Linked DNA regions of Homo sapiens: region 1 is linked to region 2. The links are contacts of gene promoters, found by promoter capture Hi-C in blood cells and fetal thymus (Javierre and others, 2016). All regions are on one chromosome and are shown on one strand. The core of a region is centred on a gene start or on the middle of the fragment in contact, and the rest is flanking DNA. Distances in the headings are between cores, read along the strand shown. Region 1 overlaps PHACTR4 (phosphatase and actin regulator 4). Region 2 holds the start of SRSF4 (serine and arginine rich splicing factor 4).

What was found. Contacts are between HindIII fragments. The CHiCAGO score rates a contact against its expected background, and 5 or more counts as called.
Region 1: a contact is called between a fragment that was not itself captured here and the fragment with the promoter of SRSF4 in region 2, in 2 of 17 cell types (naive CD4 T cells and total CD4 T cells). The highest score is 5.9, in naive CD4 T cells.

The regions. Positions count from the first base shown.
Region 1 is chr1:28,409,808-28,416,348 of GRCh38, reverse strand. All of the region lies in intron 2 of PHACTR4 (phosphatase and actin regulator 4), which reads right to left. Among named protein-coding and RNA genes, the nearest start is that of PHACTR4, 43 kb to the right of the region's middle. RefSeq lists an enhancer at 6,326-6,385. The HindIII fragment of the contact is 1,580 bases long and covers 2,503-4,082 here.
Region 2 is chr1:29,179,426-29,186,572 of GRCh38, reverse strand. SRSF4 (serine and arginine rich splicing factor 4) reads left to right here and starts at 4,673. Exons shown (of 6, transcript NM_005626.5): 1 at 4,673-4,927. The coding sequence starts at 4,821. It also overlaps a transcript of MECR not described here. RefSeq lists enhancers at 3,345-3,982, 4,325-4,554, 3,983-4,620 and silencers at 4,625-4,834, 4,885-5,074. The HindIII fragment of the contact is 7,304 bases long and covers 531-7,147 here.

The sequences.
Region 1 (6,541 bases), core at 2,043-4,542, 770 kb after region 2:
AGTGGGTAGGATGTAACAGTAAAAACATGTTGACCTTTATACCCCTTCAGGAAATAAGATGACAGAGGATATTTAATATATATTTATAATAATGCTATATTAAATTTCTCATCAAGACCACTAGGAGAAAAAATGGAACTAGCATCAATTTTGGCATCATGTAATACTGGAGGAATTTAACTCCTACACCCTGAGGACCTCAAAACTAATTAAGCTTGTATTTTGTCTTTCATTCTTAAAGAGGAGGGAGGGAAGGACTATGTTACTGGCATATTTTGAGCTTCAAGTGATAACAACATAACATCAAAAATGTTTTCCCATGAACTTTGAAGTGCATTATGTCTTGAGTTTGGCTCCTTGGCAAATGTTCTTAAACAGCTAGAAAAAAACTCCTTTATAGCATCATCATAATAATTCATAAATTCAGATACAGAATAAGAAAAAAATAATTGACTTTGTTTAGGAAATAATAAATTCTATTTGCTACCTTAACAAACTACTTCTCCTATTTCCTATATGATACAAATTCTAATCAAAAGGAGGTATTATCTTATAAATTTGTTTCCAGAATGCCATGCATATGAATAAAGCCTTTGCAACTAGCTTTAAATTCAGAATGCAAACTGATAATCTACATCTCATTAAACAATCACCAAACACACCCAAAAAAGTATTTTCAACAAGTCATGTTCATATTTATACAAGAGAGGGTATATAGAAACTTAATGAAGTATTCAGATGATTTAAAACATTTTGGGAAGGCAATTAGTATGCAGATCCTCCTCCACCTCAAAAATCTTTAGAAGGAAGTCACAACTCAGTACTTTTAAATAAGTGATATGCTAGGGTTTCAGTCCCTTTTGTTCTGGTATGCTCTTGGGAGAATGACTGTTAACTCCATAAGCAGTTGAAAAGGGAGGAAGAAAGCAGAAGCACGAATTAGCTATTTTTGAAAGTAGTGGGGTGTGGAGCATCATGGTAGCACAAATTCTATGCACATCCTCTCTGGATCCTTCCTTCACTCAGCACTTATGTACAGTGTAGCCATGAATTTTTTTCTTTCTTTTCTCTCTCTTTTTTTTTTTTTTGAGACAGAGTCTCGCTCTGTTGCCCAGGCTGGCGTGGAGTGGCGTGATCTTGGCTCACTGCAACCTCCGCCTCCCGGGTTCAAGCAATTCTCCTGCCTCAGCCTCCCAAGTAGCTGGGACTACAGTAGCACGCCATCATGCCTGGGTAATTTTTTGTATTTTAGTAGAGGCGGGGTTTCACCTTGTTGCCCAGGCTGGTCTCGAATTCCTGAGCTCAGGCAAACCGTCCACCTCGGCCTCCCAAAGTGCTAGGATTACGGGGGTGAGCCACCGCGCCCAGCCTAATTTTTTCTTTTAACTGGTAGTATACACCAGTATAGGTTAACAAGTAATACATTCATTGTATTTTATCCAGGTCTCTGAAATGAGATGAAAGGGAGGTGACCTAAAATCAGGAGAAGCAAGGTAAAAGCTGTTTGATTCCTCTATCACTTTCCCTACTCCATGATCTTCAATGTCTGTCCTACACTAACTCTGGCGGAATTTTGGAATCTGTTTTCCAAGAAAGTGTAAAGCAAATGGTCTCTGGAAAGGGGTCGCAAAAGGCAACTGATGGTAGGGATATGGTACAAAAAATGGAAGGGGTTGGGTGCAATGGCTCATGCCTGTAATCTCAACTTTTGGGGAGGCCGAGGTGGGAGAATCACTTGAGCCCAGGAGTTCAAGACCAGCCTGGGCAACATAGGGAGACTGCATCTTTACAAAAAGTAAAAAAATTAGTCAGGCATGGTGGTATGTGCCTATAGTCCCAGCTACTTGGGAGGCAGAGGTGGGAGAATTGTTTGAGCTCAGGAGGTCGAGGCTGCGGTGCTTTTTTTTTTTTTTTTTTTTTTGAGACAGAGGAAGACTGACCCCAAAAAATAAAAATAAAAAAATAAAATGAAAAAGAAAATAAGGCCAGCTGCAGAGGCTCATGCCTGTAATCTCAGCACTTTGGTAGGCCGAGGCAGGCGGATCACCTGAGGTCAGGAGTTCGAGACCAGCCTAGCCAACATGGTGAAACCCTAAAACTACAAAAATTAGCCAGGCAGTGATGGGTGCTTGTAATCCCAGTTACTCGGGAGGCTGAGGCCAGGAGAATCATTTGAACCCAGGAGGCAGAGGTTGCAGTAAGCTGAGATGGCGCCACTGCACTCTAGCCTGGGTGACAGAGCAAGACTCCATCTCAAAAGATAAAAATAAAGTAAAATAAAATACAAATACAAGTAAAATTAAAAATGGAAGAGAATTAAGTGAAAATATGCATAATTAATGCTGAATGCAGCAGTCTCTTCAGTCAGTTTTCTTCACCCCTTACCATCCAAACACAGTGGGAAGACTGTGCCCCTTAGACCCTGATACTGATATGAGAATGTTCATCAACAATAAGGCCAAGAAGCTCACCCAAAGGCAACCTGCCTATACATTTAAAGCTTCTAACTGGCTATTTAGTCCCTCACTTTTAACCATCAGCAGACAGTTAATTATTACTAGACATCAGAGAAAAACTCTAACATAAAAGAAACCAAATCAATATTTAAAAACAATGTTAGGAAAAAAAGAGACTATGCAGGGCAAGGAAAATCTGTTGAAAGAATGAAAGGATAGTATAAAAAGAAACATGCAGAGACTTCAAAAAGACCTCCTGGAGATTAAACTCTAATAGTAGAAAAGAAAAATTTAATAAAAGTAGAAGATAAAGTTGAATAAATCTTGCAGGAAACATATCTAAAGGAAAAAGAAATGAATTAGATAATTATTCCAGGAGGTTCAACATCAAAAAGCTACTGGCAACCAAGACAGAGGAAGACATGAGGGTTTAGGAAACAAAGGAGCTAACACAGGAAAGAAGCAAAGCTGTCAGGAAAATGGAGACTGGATAACCCAGGATGACAGTTGCGTACCACCTCTACAGACTGCAAGGCCACCTGTACACAGACTGGAGCAATGTGACTCAAGAGATATATTGAAAGCTGTCATCACCAATATCTCTGCTGCTATTTATCCTTTTTAAAGCTAAGAACACAGTACCCAGGTGAGCCTGGCCCTCAGCCTGTCTTGACTAAATGCTTATGGATTTCTTCTTTGAACATACTTGATTGCCTAATGAGTTCCAGACTCATTTCGCTCCACAAAAGTTTCTTTAACCCAGCGGTCCCCAACCTTTTTGGCACCAGGGACCAGGTTCATGGAAGACAATTTTTCTACAGACGGGGGTGTTGGGGTGGTTTGGGATGAAACTGTTCCACCTAATCACTGATCTGACAGGAGGTGGAGCTCAGACTGTAATGCTCACTGGCCCACTGCTCACCTCCTGTGGCCCGGGGGTAGTGGTGCAGGGTACTCCTGCTTAGGAGAAACCACAGAGCTAATCACTCCCTCTGACCATATTTCTGTCAAATGTCCAAGACCTAGTCCACACTGAAACCCTGCCCAATACAATCTCCAGGATTAAATCTTAACTTTACTCATGACTTCCATAGAAGGGCCTCTAGGAACCTCAGGAAAATGAAGCAAGTATAATCTGCTGATCTCTGGGGATCCCTGAGATCCTTTCAGAAGTCCAAGAGGTAAAACTAAATACATAAGAATACAAAAAAATTATTTGCCTTTTCCACTGTGTTGACACTTGCACTGATGGTACAAAAGCAATGGTGAGCAAAACTGTTAGCACCTTAACACAAATCAAGGCAACAGCACCAAACTGTAGCAGAAATCATTGTATTCTTCACAACTACACAGTTACAGTGAAAAATAAATTCAACTTTAAGAATGTCCTTGATAAAGCAATAAAAAATATTAGTTTTAATAAATATCAACCCTTTAGTACATATATTTTTATTACTGTTTATGATGAAACAGAAATATGTATAAAGCACATTTGTATACTAAGTATGATGGTTATCTCCAGGAAAGGCATTTGTGTGACTGAGTTGCAAACTGAACTAGACAGTTTTCTTCATGGAATACTATTTTTACTTGAAAGACTGAACAACAAGCTATGTTATTCAAGCTTAGATAGCTGACAGGCATTTTCTCAAAAGTAAGCCTGTCACTAATAAAGAAAATTAACAGTATTTGTTGCTAGTGATAGAATTCAAGCTTTCAAGTGAAATTCCTATTTTGGAAAATTTACATCCAGAATGAGCTTGACAGCTTCCCAACATTTAACATTTTTTTCAACGAGACCAATAGTGATATTAACGAACATGATATTTAAATATTATATAATGAAATGTGTAAGCATCTGTCCAGGTAGAAAAGGTCCTAGAGACCTTAGGTCTATCCTTCTGGTACTTTATTCGTAAAAATCCCTCACTACTTTTATTTCCAGAATACCACAAATAATTCTTTCTTTCTTTCTCTTTCTTTCTTTCTTTTGTTCATTCGTTCTTTCTTTCTTTTGTTCATTCGTTCTTTCTTTCTTTCTTTTGGGTGGTTTCTGTTTTCTTTTTTTCCTTTTTTATGTCATTTTTTACTTCAATAGGTTTTGGGGAATGGGTAGTATTTGGTTACATGAATACGTTCTTTAGTGGTGATTTCTAAGATTCTGGTGCAACCATCATCCAAGCCGTGTACACTGTACCCAATGTGTAGTCTTTTATCTCTTTTTCAATATTTCTACTTAATTATTAGCTAACTTGATTATAACAAAATTCTCACTCCACCAAAAGAAACAAACTCATTTTACATCCTCAATTCTTTTCTTTGTCAAATGACACTGAGTACACCAAATTCTTATCATATGTATATGTGTGTATATGTATAGTAAACAACTAAGAAAAAAATCATTATAACATTTAGAAGGAAAAATGGAGACAGAGGAGAATGGTAGTTAAATATGAGTCATTTCTGTTTTCCTATAAACTCCATATTATGATTGAATGAATGTTAATTTACAAATTCCAAGATTTAAATAAGTGTTTAGAAAAAAATAATCTCAGGCCGGGCTCACACCTGTAATCCAAACACTTTCGGAGGCCGAGGCAGGTGGATCATCTGAGGTCAGGAGTTCAAGACCAGCCTGGCCAATATGGCGAAATCCCGTCTCTATTAAAAATACAAAAATTAGTTGGGTGTGGTGGCAGGTGCCTGTAGTCCCAGCTACTTGGGAGGCTGAGGCAGGAGAATTGCTTGAACCCAGGAGGCGGAGGTTGCAGTGAGCCGAGATCACACCATTGTACTCCAGCCTGGGTGACAGAGCAAGACTCCACCTCAAAAAAACCCCCAAAAAACAAAAACAAACCAAAAAAATAAAAATAAAAAATAATCTCAGCCGGGCATGGTGGCTCACGCCTGCAATTCCCGCCACTTTGGGAGGCCACGGCGGGTGGATCACCTGAGGTCAGGAGTTCAAGACCAGCCTGGCCAACATGGTGAAACCTCATCTCTACTAAAAATACAAAAATTAGCTGGGCATGGTGGCAGGTGCTGGTAATCCCAGCTACTCAGGAGGCTGAGGCAGGAGAATCACTTGAACCCGGGAGGTGGAGGTTGCAGTGAAGTGAGACTGTGCCATTGCACTCCAGCCTTGGCGACAAGAGCAAAACTCCGTCTCAAATAAAAAAAAGAAAAGAAAAAGAAAAAAATAATCTCACTAGCACAGAACCCAAATTTCTACCTATCTTAGTAAACAATCAAAAGCACATTTCACTTTATGCCTCAATTGACTACTGGTCAACTATAACTTCTATAGCAACTCTCACGTTGATACTCCCTAGAAAATTTAAGTTATATTTAAGGTTAATTTCAGTTTAATTTAATTGTTTAATAATAAATTTGATTGATAAGATTATATTAAAATTTAGGTTATGTTTACTTAAGTGAAGCAAGGAGGTCACTCAGAATGAAAACTTAGGTTTCCAGTACAAACCTACGGAGTTGTCATGTATTATTCTAGTTTATCATATGGTCATGTTCTTTAGAATTTGTCACCAGACTACTATAATAAAACTCAGTTTACCAAATTCTTCAAGATTTAACCTGGTAATGAAGCTACAAACTTTAGGAATAAGTGGCTGGGCACGGTGGCTCACGCCTGTAATCCCAGCACTTTGGGAGGCCAAGGTGGGCAGATCATGAGGTCAGGAGCTCGAGATCATCCTGGCCAAGATGGTGAAACCCTGTCTCTACTAAAAATACAAAAAATGAGCTGGGTGTGGTGGCACGTGCCTGTAGTCCCAGCTACTCGGGAAGCTGAGGCAGGAGAATGGCTTGAACTCGGGAGGCGGAGATTGCAGCGAGCCCAGATCACCCCACTGCACTCCAGCCTGGGGACACAGCGAGACTCTGTCTCAAAAAAAAAAAAAAAAAAAAAAAAAAAAAAAAAATTTATGAAGAAGTACAGACTGCCCTCTTGTGTTCAAACTAAGGATGGATCTAATTGATGATGGATCTAATTGATGAACTAGGCATAATCCTAAAAACTACTCTTCAGGGGGGAAAGAAAGCCAAGGTCCTAAAGAAATTATCTA
Region 2 (7,147 bases), core at 3,424-5,923:
TAAACGCTCTTTATGTGAAAGGCACTGTTGTTAGGGGCTAGGGATAGAGCAGGAAACAAAAAACATGGCCCCTGAGACCAGCGAGCTTACATTCCAGTGGTGGAGAAAGACCATGCACAAGTAAATAAATAAACCAGGTAATTACAGACTGTGTAGTAAGTGTTGTGAAATATGACAAACAACACTTGAAATAAGGTGGACATGGAAGGCCTCAGGCCTGAATAAGAAGGAGCCAGCTGTATTCCAGGCAGAGGAAGTAGCGCATATCAAAGCCCTGACTGTGAACAGTCTGATGAGGCCTGAACTAGTTTAGGAAGTAGGAATGGAAAGAAGGAATGAATCTGTGAATATTTAGAAGGAATAATCAGAAGGACAGACTGAATGCAGTGGTTGAAGGTTGAACTTTGGCACCTCGCTGATGGTGGTGCCACTTGCATTGGGGAAGGAGGAGCAGGTTTTAGGGACAAGCATTTCCCCTCTGGAGGGCTCTCTTTCCCATCTGTACAATAGGTTAATATAACAACCAAGCTTAGTGCTAGGATTTTTGTTTTCGTGGTTTTTTGTTGTTTTTGTGTGTGTGTGTGCATGTGATGGGGTCTCACTCTGACATCCAGGCTTGAGGACAGTGGCATGATCACAGATCACTGCAGCCTCAACCTCCCTGGGCTCAGGAGATCCCCCCCATCTCAGCCTCCCAAGTAGCTGGGACTACAGGCATGCACCGCCATGCCTGGCTAATTTTTTTTGTTGTTTTTTCTGCAGAGACGGGTTTTTGCCATGTTGCCCAGGCCAGATTGCTAGTTCTTAAGAATGTTATGTTCCTCACACTTACTGAATTCCAAATGAATTAAAGATTATGGCCGGGCAAGGTGGCTCACACCTGTAATCCCAGCCCTTTGGGAGGCCCAGGCGGGTGAATCACCTGGAGTTGGAAGTTCAAGACCAGCCTGACCAACGTGGAGAAACCCCATCTCTACTAAAAATACAAAATTAGCTGGGCGTGGTGGCACATGCCTGTAATCCCAGCTACTCAGGAGGCTGAGGCAGGAGAATCACTTGAAACCGGGAGGCAGAGGTTGCAGTGAGCGGGGATCGTGCCATTGCACTCCAGCCTGGGCAACGAGTTAAACTCTGTCTCTAAAATATATATACATAAATTAGCTTGGCATGGTGGCACGGGCCTGTAGTCCCAGCTACTCAGGAGGCTGAGGCAGGAGAACCGTGTGAACCCAGGAGGCACAGGTTGCAGTGAGCCAAGATCATGCCACTGTATTCCAGCCTGGGTGACAGAGCAAAACTCTGTCTCAAAAAATAAAATTGAATTAAATTTAAAAAATAAAATAATAAATAGGAGGTTGGGTGCAGTGGCTCATGCCTGTAATCTCAACACTGGGAGGTCCAGAAGGGAGGATTGCTTGAGCCCAGTTGTTTGTTTGTTTCTTTTTTGAGACAAAGTTTCGCTCTTGTTGCCCAGGCTGGAGTGCAATGGCACAATCTTGGCTCACTGCAGCCTCCGCCTCCTGGGTTCAAGCTATTCTCCTGCCTCAGCCTCCCGAGTAGCTGGGATTATAGGCGCCTGCCACCATGTCTGGCTAATTTTTTGTATTTTTAATAGAGACAGGGTTTCACTATGTTGGCCAGACTGGTCTCGAACTCCTGGCCTCAGGTGATCCACCCACCTCGGCCTCCCAAAGTGCTGGGATTACAGGTGTGAGCCACTGTGCCTGGCCTGAGCCCAGTAGTTTAAGACCAGGCAGGAAAACAACGAGACTCCATCTCTAAAAAAGTAGAATAGGCTGGGCGCTGTGGCCTGTTTTTGAGATGGAGTTTTGCTCTTGTCACCCAGGCTGGAGTGTGATGGCACGATCTCGGCTCACTGCAACCTCTGCCACCTGGGTTCAAGCAATTCTCCTGCCTCAGCCTTTTGAATAGCTGAACTACAGGCCCACACAATCACACCTGGCTAATTTTTTGTATTTTTAGTAGAGATGGGGTTTCCCCATGTTGACCAGGCTGGTCTTGAATCCCTAACCTCAGATGATCCTCCTGCCTCAACCTCCCAAAGCGCTGGGATTACAGGCGTGAACCACCGCACCCAGCCACTAATTATTACTTTCAAAATAGATTTCTTGCCGGGCGCGGTGGCTCACGCCACCTCACCTGAGGTCAGGAGTTTGAGACCAGCCTGGCCAACATGGTGAAACCCAGTCTCTATTAAAGATACAAAAAAATTAGCCAGGCGTGGTGGCACATGCCTGTAATCCCAGCTACTTGGGAGGCTGAGGCAGGAGAATTGCTTGAACCTGGAGGCAGAGACTGCAGTGAGCCAAGATAGTGCCACTACACTCCATCTTGGGCAACAGACCAAGACTCCATCTCAAAAAAAAAAAAAAAAAGCCGGGTACAGTGGCTCACGCCTGTAGTCCCAGCACTCTGGGAGGCCGAGGCAGGCAGATCACGAGGTCAGGAGATCAAGACCAGCCTGGCCAACATAGTGAAACCCCTTCTCTACTAAAATACAAAAAAATTAGCCGGGCGTGGTGGCAGGTGCCTGTAATCCCAGCTACTCTAGAGGCTGAGGAAGGAGAACGCTTGAACCCAGAAGGCGTAGGTTGCAGTGAGCTGAGATCGCACCGCTGCACTGCAGCCTGGGCGACAGTGCGAGACTCAGTCTCAAAAAAAAAAAAAAAAAGTAGAATAAATAAAAATTTAAAAATAAAATCCAGAATCAAAGAAAAATAAAGGATGGATAAATTGATCCCATAAATATCTAATGTTTTTGCATGGCTAAAAAACACTCTTGGCAAAGTCAAAAGTCAACAAATGGAAAAAATATTTGCAACTCATTTGACAAAGAGCTGATTTTCCTAATATATAGTGAGCACCTATGAATAAGAAAAATGGGTAAAGGATATACACAGACAGAAATAGGAAAATATATCTCAAACATATGAAGAAAGACTCATATCTCTGCAAAATATGATATTTGCAAATTAAACCACTTGGAGATAACATTTTTCACCTCTCAGATTGGCAAAGATCAAAAAGTTTGATAACACGGTGTTGATGAGGATATGAGGAAACAGCCACTTAAGGGGAATTGAGCAATAACTTATCAAAACTCTGACCCAAATATCCTATTTCTAGGAATAGATGATATATATAGAGAGAGAGAGAAAGAGAGAGAGAGAAATGCAAAGTTACTGCAGCAGTGTAATAACAAAAGGTTGGAACTTATTTCAATGTCCTTCACCAGGGCACTGGCTAAATAAATTACTGTGTATAAAATGGTATGAACCATAAAACTAGTCCTTTTATACTCTTAAGGAATGATTTTCAAAATATATTTTGTGTAGAACCATATGTATAGTATCCTACTATTTGTTTTATAAGGGTAAATTAACCTCCTAAAGGACATTTCAGAAACTGCCTCTGGGAAGAGAAACTAAGTGGCTGGTGGACAGCGAAGACTTTTCACTGTGTATCATTTGAACCTTGAGTTATCCTTTCAAAATATTCAAAAAACAAAAACAAGCAAAGAAACAAAACCCTTTATGGTTCTAGGTACATGGCGTTAGTGAGAAGGGAACCAATATTTATTGAGCTCTTACCATGTTTCAGACACTGTTCCAAGTACTTTCACATACACTACCCCATTTAGTGACCTGTGTAATCCTTGAGATGGGTATACATTATTCTAATTTTACAGGTTAGAAAATAGACTGGATAGGCCAGGCGCAGTGGCTCACGCCTGTAATCCCAGCACTTTGGGAGGCCAAGGCGGGCGGATCACCTGAGGTCTGGAGTTTGAGACCTGCCTGGCCAATATGGTGAAACTTCCTCTCTCCTAAAAATACAAAAATTAGCCGGGCGTGGGGGCGGGCGCCTGTAGTCCCAGCTACTCTGGAGGCTGAGGCAGGAGAATCGCTTGAACCCGGGAGGCGGAGGTTGCAGTGAGCTGAGGTCGCGCCACTGCACTCCAGCCTGGGCGACCGAGCGAAACTCGTCTCAAAAAAAAAAAAATAGGTTGGATTGTGGTCAAGTAATTTACTCGGCGTCATGCCTAGTCTAGCTCCAAAGCTCCAGCCTTCTCCGCTTCTCACACTGCTTCTATTTAAGCAGTGTCCTCTTAAAAATAATACTGGTCTCATTTATTGGGCACTTGATATGACAAAACTACTAAGTGCTTTATGTACGTATTCTCATATAATTCTCAAGACAACTCTGGAAGGTAGGAACTACTCTCCCCCTTTTACAGAAAAGATAAAGGAGGGTCCGAGACATCGCGCGTAACAAGCCCAAGGTCACGGGTACACAATCGTTTGGAAGCTAGGTTTGATTCCAAAGCTCCAGCTCCGAAATCCAAACCACACCCGGTTCAAAGGACAAAAGCACAAACGCTCGCTCGCTGGGCTCTAGGAGGTGCGGACACTTCCGGGGGAGGGGCGAAGCCAGCTGGCTGCGGAAGGCGGTGCAGGAACCCCTTTGGCGAGCTCGCGCGAGGACGTGCCGCAGCGCCGCCTGTCGATCACCTTGCCCCGCCGCACGTCGGCGCGCCCCCGGGCAAGCTCCTCCCCCAGTCCTGGCCGAGCGGGAAGCGAACGCGCGCTCTCTCCGGTTACCTTCCGCCTCGGGGAAGGGCGGGGGAAGTGGAAGCGCGCGCTCGCGAGCTGCGTGCTCGCGTACGTCGCCGGGGTTCGGCTGCGTCCGTCCCGCCGCCCGCCCGTTGCCGCCGCCGCCGCTGCCGCCGTGCTCTCGCTTTGCCCGCCGCCGCCTAAGGGGGGCTGGGGCCGGGGCCAGCCATCACTGCCGTTGCCGGGATGCCGCGGGTGTACATCGGCCGCCTGAGCTACCAGGCCCGGGAGCGCGATGTGGAGCGCTTCTTTAAGGGCTACGGGAAGATCCTGGAGGTGGATCTGAAGAACGGGTGAGGAGGGCGAAAGAGGGTCCGGCCGGGCGGGGACAGACCCCATAGGTGGTGGGGAGGCCGCGGGGACGGGAGAGGGACGCCTGGTCCGCGCGGAGCGGCTACCGGCCTGGCCAGGCTCCGCCATAGTGGCGGCGCCTCGGGGGCGCGGGTAGGCCCCGGTTCCCACTGCGCCTGCGCGGGTGGGGGTGGTGGAGGCATAATGGGAGCTGTGCTGAGGCCCTGAGTGGGACGGGGAGAAGGAAAGCCCGAGTGGGGCTGGTGCTCCGGGCAGGGGGGCACAGCTCCAGGGCGCCCGGGAGACCTGGGTTTTCCCTTCCTAGGCCCGGAACTGGGGCCCTATTCGTTTCTGGGTAGACACCAACCTTTCCCGCTCTGAGGACTACTGGAAATAAACAGGATTTCCTGCTCCCTTTCACCTCTTGCCCGGTCTCATGGATCAGACGGTCACAGCGCCGTCTTCCCCGAGGACTGGAGCCTTGGAGGGAGGCCCTTTTTAGCCGTGTGCCACGCTTTTTTGGGCGGGAGACTCCAGTTTGAGTAGTCTAGTGACAGTTTCGAAAGTATCGTCTTGCCGTGCTGAAAGCCTTCACCGTTCCCTCTGCAAGAGTAAATTAAAGTCTTAACTTCTTATCTTTAAGACTCCGTGCAGAGTTTCCACGCTGTGGTTTCCGTTTTCCAACTTACCGAAAAATTGCTTGGCCGTTGTAGAATTTGTTAGGAGAATAGTGGCCACCCTGGCTAGTATCTGCGTCTGGTTAACGCAGACGGAGACGAAATTGTTAACTTACTGCCTCCCCCAGAGTATGATCTATTACTTGTATTCTTAATCTACTTCGGCAAAAATAGTGCCAGCATGAGCTACAGGTTTTAGGGAAAACTGTTGAGGAATCAGGCCTGGAGAAAATACTCAACGGGGAAAACTGGGAACCAGATGTTAGGTAGGGCTTGGAAGGCATGGATATAAAATTAAAAGGACTGGGGTGACATTTTAGGGCACTAAACCTTGGGTGTTAGAGAACTCTTGGCTTAAAAAAGAAACTCTACTTTGCAACAGTTGTAATATAGCTACCGTTTACTCCCCAGGGTTATACTAGTAACTGACACCTGAAACATTTTGAAAGTTACCTAAGTATGTTTCACGTATGAGAAAACTGGTAGCTACCGTATTCTCAAATGATGATTTGGGTTTAAAAAGCCATTTCAAATTAATTATTAGAATCGTTTTCTTTCTGAGGACGTCTTTAGTAAAGTACTGATTTCTTTTACAGTAAAAGGCTTTAAAAACTACTCCTTTTCTACAGTAAAACGTTCAGTTCTTAAGGATATATTGAAGTGGCGGGTAGACGTTATTGTATACATACCATATATGTGAAAGTTGAAACTCCAGTTTTTTTCAGAGCCCAGCTAAATTGACAGCATAACTAACTTTTGTGGACAAAGTGTGGATTTTGAAGCCAGCCAGGCCTAAGTCAAATCCTGGTTCCACCACTTACTACGTATGGGCAAGTTACTTCTCTGAACCTGGTTGTTCATTCATGTGGAAAAGGAAGATTAGAGATAATAAATGTAAAGCATTTGGCTTAGGCAGTAAGTGGCAGCTATAATCAGAGGGATGAGGAAACATCTTTGCTTGTTGGTGTTTGATAACATAAAGCGTGTTTGGTGAGGTCTTTTCTAATGTTACTCAGGTGATAGTGTGCAGGAAATGACAAGACTGTTAATGGGAAACTGATTCATCAACCAAATGTATTGATAACCCATCAACAAAATGTCCACCACTGTGCTAAATGAATTGGGGGAGGAGGCAGAAAACAGTTCTGCTCTTGAATAAATTAAGCATTATGACATGTGCACTTTGAATTAAGAAATGTTTGCTTTCGCTTTAAACTCTAGTAAAACTTGGAATGATTTGCTTGAAAAGATGTGTTGAAATGGCTTTGAAGAATAGATTAGAGCTTGAAGTGAAGAAATTTAGGTTTCTGGGAATAGTATATGTCGTAGTTGGGGCTCAGGCATGGTGACTTGTGCCTGCAATCCCAGCTGAAGTGTGAAGATTACTTCAGGCCAGGAGTTTGAGACCAGCCTGACCCCATCTCTAAGAAAAAAATTTTTTTAATTAGCCACGCGTGGTGACACTCGCCTATAGTCCTAGCTACTTCAGAGGATGAGGCAGGAGGATCACTTCAGCCTAGGATTTCAAGGCTACAGTGAGCTATG